Linked DNA regions of Homo sapiens: all the other regions are linked to region 2. The links are contacts of gene promoters, found by promoter capture Hi-C in blood cells and fetal thymus (Javierre and others, 2016). All regions are on one chromosome and are shown on one strand. The core of a region is centred on a gene start or on the middle of the fragment in contact, and the rest is flanking DNA. Distances in the headings are between cores, read along the strand shown. Region 1 overlaps LOC107985342 (a long non-coding RNA gene). Region 2 holds the start of FPR1 (formyl peptide receptor 1). Region 3 has its middle 20 kb from the start of DPRX.

What was found. The method cuts DNA at HindIII sites, captures the fragments that hold promoters and counts their contacts. A CHiCAGO score of 5 or more calls a contact.
Region 1: a fragment that was not itself captured here is called in contact with the fragment with the promoter of FPR1 in region 2 in 5 of 17 cell types (naive CD4 T cells, fetal thymus, total B cells and 2 more); the score reaches 7.9 in naive CD4 T cells.
Region 3: a fragment that was not itself captured here is called in contact with the fragment with the promoter of FPR1 in region 2 in 1 of 17 cell types (fetal thymus); the score reaches 9.2 in fetal thymus.

What each region holds. Positions count from the first base shown.
Region 1 is chr19:53,659,336-53,662,760 of GRCh38, forward strand. The region is part of intron 2 of LOC107985342 (a long non-coding RNA gene); the gene reads left to right. Among named protein-coding and RNA genes, the nearest start is that of MIR512-1, 5.6 kb to the right of the region's middle. RefSeq lists enhancers at 1,006-1,895, 1,896-2,785. The HindIII fragment of the contact is 172 bases long and covers 1,946-2,117 here.
Region 2 is chr19:51,750,533-51,753,767 of GRCh38, forward strand. It overlaps FPR1 (formyl peptide receptor 1), which reads right to left and starts at 1,346. Exons shown (of 2, transcript NM_002029.4): 1 at 1,282-1,346. The HindIII fragment of the contact is 1,877 bases long and covers 540-2,416 here.
Region 3 is chr19:53,610,249-53,613,747 of GRCh38, forward strand. It overlaps a transcript of DPRX not described here. Among named protein-coding and RNA genes, the nearest start is that of DPRX, 20 kb to the right of the region's middle. RefSeq lists enhancers at 1,509-2,502, 2,503-3,497, 3,498-3,499. The HindIII fragment of the contact is 2,689 bases long and covers 292-2,980 here.

The sequences.
Region 1 (3,425 bases), core at 782-3,281, 1.9 Mb after region 2:
CAGGCTTCCGTTGTTTCTTTTTGTGCTGTAATCTTCCGTGTTTTCTCTGCACATAGCTCAGTAAAGCTCTATTCACCAGTTAACCTAGAGTCTGTCTTGAGATAAGCAGGGAGGGCTGTGACGGCTGCACAAGGGCGGAGTGGTTTGTAGACCTGAAAAGGAACTTGTAAGAGCTGGCAGATCTTAACCAGGAGAGGGAGCCCCTTTCCACAGCCTAGAAGCTTCTGAAGTCATTTAAATGGAACTGAATTATATGAAGTCAAATGTCAGTTGGGGAAAAAGTCAAACTTTATTATTTATTTATTTATTTGTAATTGTGCGTATACATATATATATATATATATATATATATATATATATATATATATATAATTTTTTTTAAATTATGATCTCCGTGATAGTACCAAATCAAACTTTTTTTGGAGACAGAGTCTTGCTCTGTCACCCAGGCTGGAGTGCAGTGGCGTGATCTCGGCTCACTGCAACCTCCGCCTCCCAGGTTCAAGCAATTCTCCTGCCTCAGCCTCCTGAAGAGCTGGGATTACAGGCGCGTGCCACCATGCCCGGCTAATTTTTGTATTTTTAGTAGAGATAGGGTTTCACCATGTTGGCCAGGCTGGTCTTGAACTCCTGACCTCAGGTGATCCACCCGCCTTGGCCTCCTAAAGTGTTGGAATTACTGGCATGAGCGACCACGCTGGCCCAAACCCTGCTTTTTACTGGAGAGACGAGGTAGCCCTAAGTTAAAAAAAAAAAAAAAAAGACCCTGTTTCACTTCTTTTGGATATACCCGGGGTGACATTGCTAGATCATTCTGCAATTCCTCCTTTTTTTTTTTTTTTTTTTTGCTGGGGGTGGGATAGAGTCTCACTCCCAGGCTGGAGTGCAATGGTGTGATCTTGGCTCACTGCAACCTCCGCCTCCTGGGCTCAAACGACTCTCCTGCAGTGAGGAGCTGGGATTACAGGTGCCTGCCACCACAACCTGCTAATTTTTTTTTTATTTTTTGTATTTTTAGTACAGACGGGGTTTCACTATGTTGGCCAGGCTGGTCTTGAACTCCTGACCCCGTGATCCGCCCGCCACAGCCTCTCAAAGTGCTGGGATGACAGGCATGAGCCTCCGCGCCCAGTAGATCATTCTGTAATTCTGTGTTTAACTTTTTCCCCCCTAAACTTAACTGAAGTGATATTTAACTTTCTGAGGAATCACCAAATCAAAGGTGACTTTTGAGACAAATACAGGAAGTGGAGGTGGTTTTCCTCATGTAGATGAAGACATTCTAAACCCAGAACTGAAAACACACATGGAATCCTTTTAAGTATCAGGATGCCTTGGTGGACAAAATGGATACATCCAACTTCTCAAGGAGCTTAATATTCAGTATTAAAGCTGAGGTGAGCTCAGGTGATTCACGCCTGTAATCCCAACATTTTGGGAGGCCAAGGCAGGCGGATCACTTGAGCCCAGGAGTTTAAGACCAGCCTGGGCAACATAGTGAGACCCCTCCCCCCTGCCCCCGTCTCTACAAAAAATAAAAAAATTACAGACGCATGGTGTAGTCCCAGCTACTTGGCAGTCAAAGGTAGAAGGACTGTTTGAACCCAGGAGTGGGTTGAAGCTGCAGTGAGCCTTGATTGTACCAGTAAACTTTAGCTTGGGAGGCAGTTGAGACCCTGTCTCAAAAAAAAAAAGAAAGGAAGAATTTCTCTCTCCCAACTTCCCTTGGTTTCTCCTCGCCCCCCGGCTAAAAAGTGATTGGGGACCTTTTAAAAAACTTCCTGCTCTCCACAGAATGGGATTACAGCCCCGAGATGATCCATAAAAGATTTTCAGGAAGAATGAAGAGTTTAGGGAGTGAAGGTTCTAAAACAGTAAATAGAGTGTCACAAAGAAATCCATTCATCTCTTTGAAGGCTGGGTATTTGGAAAAAGAGAGAAAGAAAGCTTCATTCAGAGAGCGCTCGCCTGTATTTAGGGGTGTTTGGAGGGGGCGGGGTGACTATAGAATTAGGGTAAAGTTCAGTGTCTTGCAAATCAGCCCTGAAATAGCCCTGATCCCTGCAGGCCTGTCTGGTTTCCCAAACCCTCCACTAGCTTTCAAATTTGCATTAAAAAGCTTTTGGCTTGTTCATTCTGTTCTTTCTTTCTTTTCTTTCTTTTATTTATTTATTTTTTTTGAGACGGAGTCTGGCACTGTCACCCAGACTGGAGTGCAATGGCGCGATCTCCGCTCACTGCAGCCTCTACCTCCCGGGTTCAAGCAATTCTCCTGCCTCAGCCTCCCGAGTAGCTGGGATTACAGGCGCCCACCGCCACACCTGGCTTATTTTTTTAATTTTTAATAGAGATGGGGTTTCTCCATGTTGGCCAAGCTGTTCTCAAACTTCTGACCTGGTGATCCACCTGCCTCAGCCTCCCAAAGTGCTGGGATTACAGGCGTGAGCCACTGCGCCAGGCCCTCATTCTGTTACTTCTTTCTTTCTTTTTTCATTAATTTAAGTTCTGGGATACACATGCGGGATGTGCAGGTTTGCTACATAGGTAAATGCGTGCCGTGGTGGTTTGCTGAACCTATTGACCTAGGTATTAAGCCTCACAGCCATTAGCTATTTGTCCTGATGCCCTTCTGCCTCCTGCCCATTCTTTGTTATTTCTTCATATTCCAATTAATGTTCATTTTGAGGACCTGGCTCTGGCCAGGCAAGGTTCCAGTCTGGAGTCAAACTGAGGAAAGTATTACCTTTCACAAACACTTAGACCACGTTGGGAGGGGAGAATGATTGTCCTCCACATGCGTATGGGTGTGTTATAAACCCCAGGAAGGTAAATACTAAGCAAAGGCGTGCACAGATAATTATTGCAACTGATGATTCCACGTCAATTGTACTGTACTGTGAGTAGGTTTATAGGCTGCCGTGACAGGGGCCATCACCTGGGTACGAGGGTGCTGGCTTCCTCTTGAAGACGTGACTTTAAAATTGTGAGTTGAATAGATGCAAGGATATTGGCCCAGTGGAGGAACTTTGAGGGGAGGGGGCAGGGTATCCTGGTTGGGAGGAAATTACATACAGAAATTGGGGAGTGGTGACAACATTGACTCTTCCAGTAATTGTCTGGGTGTGGTAACTCAGGACTGTAATCCCAGCACTTTGGGAGGCTGAGATGGGAGGATTGCTTGAGCTTGGGAGTTCCAGATCAGCCTAGGTAACACGAGGAGATCTAAAATTGAAAAAAAACGTAGCTGGGTGTGGTGGCTCATTCCTATAATCCCAACAACTTTGACTCAGGAGGCTGAAGTGGGAGGATCCCTTAAGGTCAGGAGGTTGAGGCTGAAGTGAGCTAGCACTTTGGGAGGCCGAGGTATGTGGATTACTTGAGGCCAGGAGTTCGAGACCAGGCTGGCTAACATGGTGAAACCCCAT
Region 2 (3,235 bases), core at 96-2,595:
ACCACCCATCCAACCACCAAAATACCCTGAGGACTCTTTGTCCTCAAGAATCTCTAAGGCAACCAGTTCAGAAGATTGTTGCAATGAATGATGAGGATTCTGCAATAATGAGCTGGAACATACCAGAGAGGAAAACCTGTGCAATTTTGTCCAATTATGGTTCAAGGGAAAAATCCTGTGATTTGCAATGAACACAGGCCTTGGTGGCTGCCATCGATGAAGGACTTTATGCTTGATAATCATTGTACCACATCCTCAACTTTCTTGCCTCTGATCTCAACAAACTCAGCATTGATTATACATCATCATCCCTGTGTGACGGAAGAGGAAACTAGGAGCTTGATGAGAAATGACAGCCAATGTCTGCAGATTCATGAGAGGGCAGGGCTGTATTCCGCTACTGGGTCCTATGCACCATGCAGAACCAGTGTCTTCACGTGGAGACTCATCACTGATCCGAAAGGTGACTGCTTCTGTATTACACTCATTTCCCCATGACCCATCATAAAGTCGTTAGGGCTCTTTTGCTTTCTCCTGAAAGCTTCAAACCAAACATCCTTTCCCATCCCGACTCAAGCCCTCAAGCTGATGCCCTTGCCTCTTGCTCCACCAGATTCTCCTCCTGCTGGCTCCTGCATCACTGTTCTCTGCCCTCATCTCTGTAACCAGAAAACAAGTGTTTCCATCCAAGAATTACCCTCTACTGGTCCCATAAAACTCATTCCCCCATTTACTCAAGAACTTCCCTCCTTCACTTATCCCTTCTCTCTCCTGCAGCCTCATAGTGTCTCTATATTCCATCATTCCCATCAGGACCCCAATAAAGTCTAGAGCCTATTTGTTTATTTATTTATTTACTTATTTATTTGAGATGGAGTCTCACTCTGTCACCTAGGCTGGAGTACAGTGGTGCAATCTGAGCTCACTGCAACCTCCACCTCCCAGATTCAAGCAATTCTCCTGCCTCAGCCTCCCAAGTAGCTTGAATTACAGACGCCCACCACCACGCCTGGCTAATTTTTGTATTTTTAATAGAAGTGAGGTTTCAACATGTTGGCCAGGCTGGTCTCGAACTCCTGACCTCAAGTTATCCACCTGCCTTGGCCTCCCAAAGTGCTGGGATTACAAGCATGAGTCACCGTGCCCGGCCTGTTTAGAACCTCTTTAAAAAAATTATTCTTCAACTCCACATCCTTCTTCAAACAAAGAGTCTATTGTGTTCACCAGTGTATTAAGTGTGTCTATGTCAAGCTACCCAGTCCCCCAGAATATGTTTCTTACCTGGACTGTTCACCAGCTGTGGTCTTGCTCTGGGTAGTTCTAGGTCTGGGTCTCCTGGGGAGAGTGACTCAGGCTCTAATGATTGCAGCAAAACATACACCAAGGAACAGGAGGAGGGGTAAAGGAACTAAAACCAGCTGGGTAGCAGGAAATAGGAAGTCTGAGCTTCTTCTGATTTTTGATGGCCCCAAGAATACACCAATATACTGTCTGCTTTAATGGCATTAGGACAGTGGGCTGGGCCTGTTTAGAAACTCATGTACCTGACTGTATTTCTCAGCCTCAGTCTCTGTGGGATGCAGAGGTTCAGTGCTCTCAACAACAAGGGCCAAGAAATCCAAGTGTCCGGGCCCCTGCTCCCTCCAAGGGTCAAGGTAAAGAAAGCAGCAAGCACTGTGGTGAGAAGAATCAGAGGGAGGCAATGAAAGGAAGAGAAGAAGTCATGAGGGATGGAGACCAGAAACACAGAGAGAGGTAAGGGAGTGGGGGAAGTTGAGACAGTTGGCAGGACAGCGCGTCCACACCCATGCACACCACCAAGATTAACCCCATAATCCTCTGATCTTGTGGAAGCTCATTTGTAGTCTTCTAGCCCAAAGAAATAACCGTTTTTCTGAAATGTTAAGCATCCTTCCAAGGGTATCAGAGTGATATGGAGAAATATGGTAAGACAGTTACAGAATCAGAGATAACGACACTGATTCTAAAAGCATTATTACCAAGGCATTGTTGCATTAAGACTGTTTTTTCTTTTCTTTTAGAGACAGTATCCTGCTACGTTGCCCAGGCATGTCTCAGACCCCTGGGTTTAGTGATCCTCCTGCCTCAGCCTCCCCAAATGCTGGGATTACAGGCATGAGCCGGGCTGTTTTTAATTCTAAGTAATTTATAATTTACAATTACACCTAACAATGGCTTCAACAAGGGGTGTCCAATCTTTTGCCTTCCCTGGGCCACACTGGAAGAAGAAGAATTGTCTTGGGCCACACATAAAATACACTAACACTAACGATACCTGATGAGCTAAAAAAAAAAAAAAAAAAAAAAATCCCCCAAAAATCTGATAATGTTTTAAGAAAGTTTATGAATTTGTGTTGGGCTGCATTCAAAGCCATCTTAGGCCATGGGCTGGACAAGCTTAGCTTAGAACCAAGACGAAATTTATGGTTTACTTTACAAGAATTTTGCAAGAGGGTAATACTAGGTTAGGTTATATCTGGAAAATATCATCAAGAACTACATTCATTTTAATCTTTTCTCTTTTTTATCCCTAATATGGTGACTTTTTTTCCTGGGGATTGCCACTTCATGGCTCCAAGAAAGCTACCACAGCTCCTGACTTCACATTACAGCAGGGGTCCCCAACCTCCAGGCCATAGACCAATACACAGACCGATACCGGTCTGTGGCCTGTTAGGAAGTGGGCTGCACAGCAGGTGACTGGCAGGTGAGCAAGAGAAGCTTCATCTGTATTTATAGCCACTCCCCATTGCTGGCATTACTGCCTGAGCTCTGCCTCCTGTCAGATTAGTGGCGGCATTAGATTCTCATAACAGTGTGAACCCTACTGTGAACTGTGCATGCCAGGGATCTGGGTTGTGTGCTCCTTATGAGAATCTAATGCCTGATGATCTGTCACTGTCTCCCATCACTCCCAGATGGGACTGTCTAGTTGCGGGAAAGCAAGCTCAGGGCTCCCACGGATTCTACATCATTGTGAGTTGTATAATTATTTCATTGTGTATTACAATGTAATAATAATAATAGAAATAAAGTCTACAATAAATGCAATGTGCTTAAATCATCCTGAAACCATCTACCCCGCCACCCCATGGAGAAATTGTTTTTTATGAAACTGGTCCCTGGTGCCAAAAATGTTGGGGACTGCTACACTCCAGCATCCCACACCAGGAGGATGGGGATGAGATGGAGAATCACTGAAGATCTTTAATCA
Region 3 (3,499 bases), core at 386-2,885, 1.9 Mb after region 2:
GGCAGAGGTTGCAGTGAGCAGAGATCACACCATTGCACTCCAGCCTGGGCGACAGAGCAAGACTCTGTCTCGAAAAAAGAAAAAAGAAGAAGGAAAAAGAAATGATCCATGGGTGAGGGGTTGGATATCCTAGATGCCGTGACATGATGATCATTACCTACTCCATTCATGTATCAAAATATCACGTGCCCCATTAATATGTACAATTATTATGTATCAAATAAGAAAAAAGTTCCCTTCATTGGCTGTTTTAATTTTATACCACCCTAAGTGAAATATTGCCACTTAGAAAGCTTAGCTGCAGGTTTAGTAAATTATAGTGAAGAAACACACCTGAAGCTGGAGCTCTGCCGGGGGCAGGTGCAAGGGCTGATGTGGAGTCCCAGCTTGTCCAACCAGCGGCCCATAGGCTGCCTGCAGCTCAGGATGGCTTTGAATGTGGTCCCACACAAATTCAGAAACTTTCTTAAAACATTACGAGTTTGTTTGTGATTCTGGGTTTTTTTCAGCCCATCAGCTATCGTTAGTGTATTTTATGTGTACCCGGAGACAATTCTTCTTCTTCCAATGTGGCCCAGGGAAGCCAAAAGATTGGACACCACTGATTGTAGACAAATAAGGAGGCCACCTTCAGACAGAGCACTGTACGCTGTTTTGTTCTTGTTTTTCTTTGAGATGGAGTCTCGCTCTGTCTCCCAGGCTGGAGTGCAGTGGGACCATCTCGGCTCAATGAAACCTCCGCCTCCCAGGTTCAAACGATTCTCCTCCCTCAGCCTCCAAGTAGCTGGGATTACAGGCAACCAACACCATGCCTGACCAATTTTTGTATTTTTAGTAGAGACAAGGTTTCACCATGTTGGCCAGGCTGGTCTCAAACTCCTGACCTCAGGTGATCCAACTGCCTCGGCCTCTGAAAGCACTGGGATTACAGGCGCGAGCCACAGAGCCCAGCCACAAAGTGACCTTCTAAAAAAAACAAAAAATCCTTTTTGCAAGACAAAAAGTGCTCTCATGATAATTTTTTTAAATTTTTTTTTGAGACATGGTCTCGCTGTGTCACTCAGGCTGGAGTGCAGCAGGCTCAAGGCATCCTCCCACTTGAGCCTCCTGAGTAGCTGGGACTATAGTCCCACATTACCACACCCAGATAATTTTTGTATTTTTGGTACAGATGGGGTTTTGCCATGTTGCCTACACTGGTCTTGGACTCCTGGGCTGAAGTGATCCACCCGCCTCAGCCTCCCAAAGTTCTGGGATTATAGGCACGAGCCTCCGCGCCTGGCCCTAATATTTATGGTGGAAATAAGGAGATGATTGCGGTACGATTTCATGCCTTCCACAGTTTATTGACATAAAAAGAGATTTTTAAAAAAAACATTGACAATGCTTAAGGAGGAGAAGAATAACACGAACACACTTCATAGAATGCACTCTGTAGGCAAAGTACGTTAACCGAATAGTGAGTGAGTTCCAAATTTTTAAAGTCCTGTTGCTCACAGGATGGAGGAAGGACTATGTGAAAAGTAAAGTCTAATTCAAATTTGAGGTGAACTGGCTGGGCGCAGTGGCTCACGCCTGGAATCCCAGCACTCTGGAAGGCCGAGGCAGGTGGATCACCTGAGGTCAGGAGTTTGAGACCAGCCTGACCAATATGGTGAAAACCCGTCTCTGTTAAAAATACAAAAATTAGCCGGGCATGGTGGTGGGCGCCTGTAATCCCAGCTACTCGGGAGGCTGAGACAGGAGAATTGCTTGAATCCGGGAGGTGGAGGTTGCCGTGAGCCGAGATCGTGCCACTGCACTCTAGCCTGGGTGACAGAGCGAGACTCCACCTCAAAAAAAAAAGTAAGCTGGGTGGTGCAGTGGCTCACGCCTGTAAAACACTAACACATTGGGGGGCCAAGGCAGGAGAATCGCTTGAGCCCAGGAATTCAAGACCAGCCTGAGAAACATAGGAAGACCCCATCTCTACAAAAAATTTAAAAATGAGTGGGCATGGTGGCATACACCTGTAGTCCCAGCTAGTTAGGAGGCTGAGACAGGAGGGTGGCTTGAACCCAGGAGGTTGAGGTTGCAGTGAGCTATGATCCTACCACTGCCTGGACAACAGAGTGAAACCGGTCTCAAAAACAAAACACAAAAAAGCAGACAGCAGCATAGAAATAGGATTGGACGTGGCCGGGTGCAGTGGCTCACGCCTGTAATCCCAGCTCTTTGGGAGGCCGAGGCAGGTGGATCACTTGAGGTCAGGCGTTCGAGACCAGCCTGGCCAACATGGTGAAACCTCGTCTCTATGAAAAATACAAAAATTAGCCGGCCATGCTGGCAGGCGCCTGTAATCCTAGCTAATTGGGAGGCCGGGACAGGAGAATGGCTTGAACCCGGGAGGCGGAGGTTGCAGTGAGCTGAGATTGTGCCACGGCATTCCAGCCTGGGCAACAGAGTGAGACTCGGTCTCAAAAAGAAAAAAAGAAAAAAAAGACCCCCTCTCTATGTTAAAGAATATTTTTAAAAAAGGAAGAAAGAAAAGAAATAGGATTGGACAAAATGGATCTGATCTAAAGGTCATAGACTGCAGGGGTCGGGCGGACGGGGAACCCAGCAAACCTGTCTCTCTGCATTCCTCCTGGCCTCTCTGAGCAGCCTTCCCTCCTGCTGGGCAGAGGGCAGAAGCCTCTCTGGAATGAGGGTCATAGACCTAAAACCAAACAAGATAGGACAGGAATTCCTTTATGGTCAGTGTTTACAGGGAAGATGGAGGGAAAATTAGAGTCAGAGATTTTAGGTTTTATGGCAGGATTTGGGGAAAAGGGATTCTGGTGTCTATGGCTCACTTTGGGAAAGACAGTTTCTAGTTTCTATGGCTAGCCTTGGGGGAGAAGGAGGGTCAGGAAGAAACTTCCGCTTCTGAAGCTGCTTCGGAAGCCTTTGTTTTGAGGTTATCGGTTTCTGAGCCCCAATATTAGCCTGCCACAGTCTAAGCTTTCAAAGCGCCTGTCAAACTCTTGTGGATCTATGTATTTCAAAGACCAAAATCAACAGCTCACATATGGGGTCCAAGAGGAGGGGGGAGGTCACTGCACGTTGTCACGTGTGAGATCTTTGTTGTTGTTGTTGAGATGGAATCTCGCTCTGTCACCCAGGCTGGAGTGCAGTGGCACCATCTCAGCTCGACTGTAACCTTCACCTCCCAGGTTCTAGCAATTATCCTGCCTCAGCCTCCCAAGTATCTGGAATTACGGGTGCGTGCCATCATGCCCCGCTAATTTTTTTTTTTTTTTTGTATTTTTAGTAGAGACGGGGGTTTCACCATGTTGGCCAGGCCAGTCTCAAACTCCTGACCCCAAGGGATCTGCCCACCTCGGCCTCCCAAAGTGCTGGGACTACAGGCATGAGCCACCGCGCCTGGCCTCTTGTGAGATCTGATAAGAAGTCACGCACTAGAAGGAAGGGAAGAGTGTACTCCACAACCCCAAACGATGCGTTTGGAATCATTTCA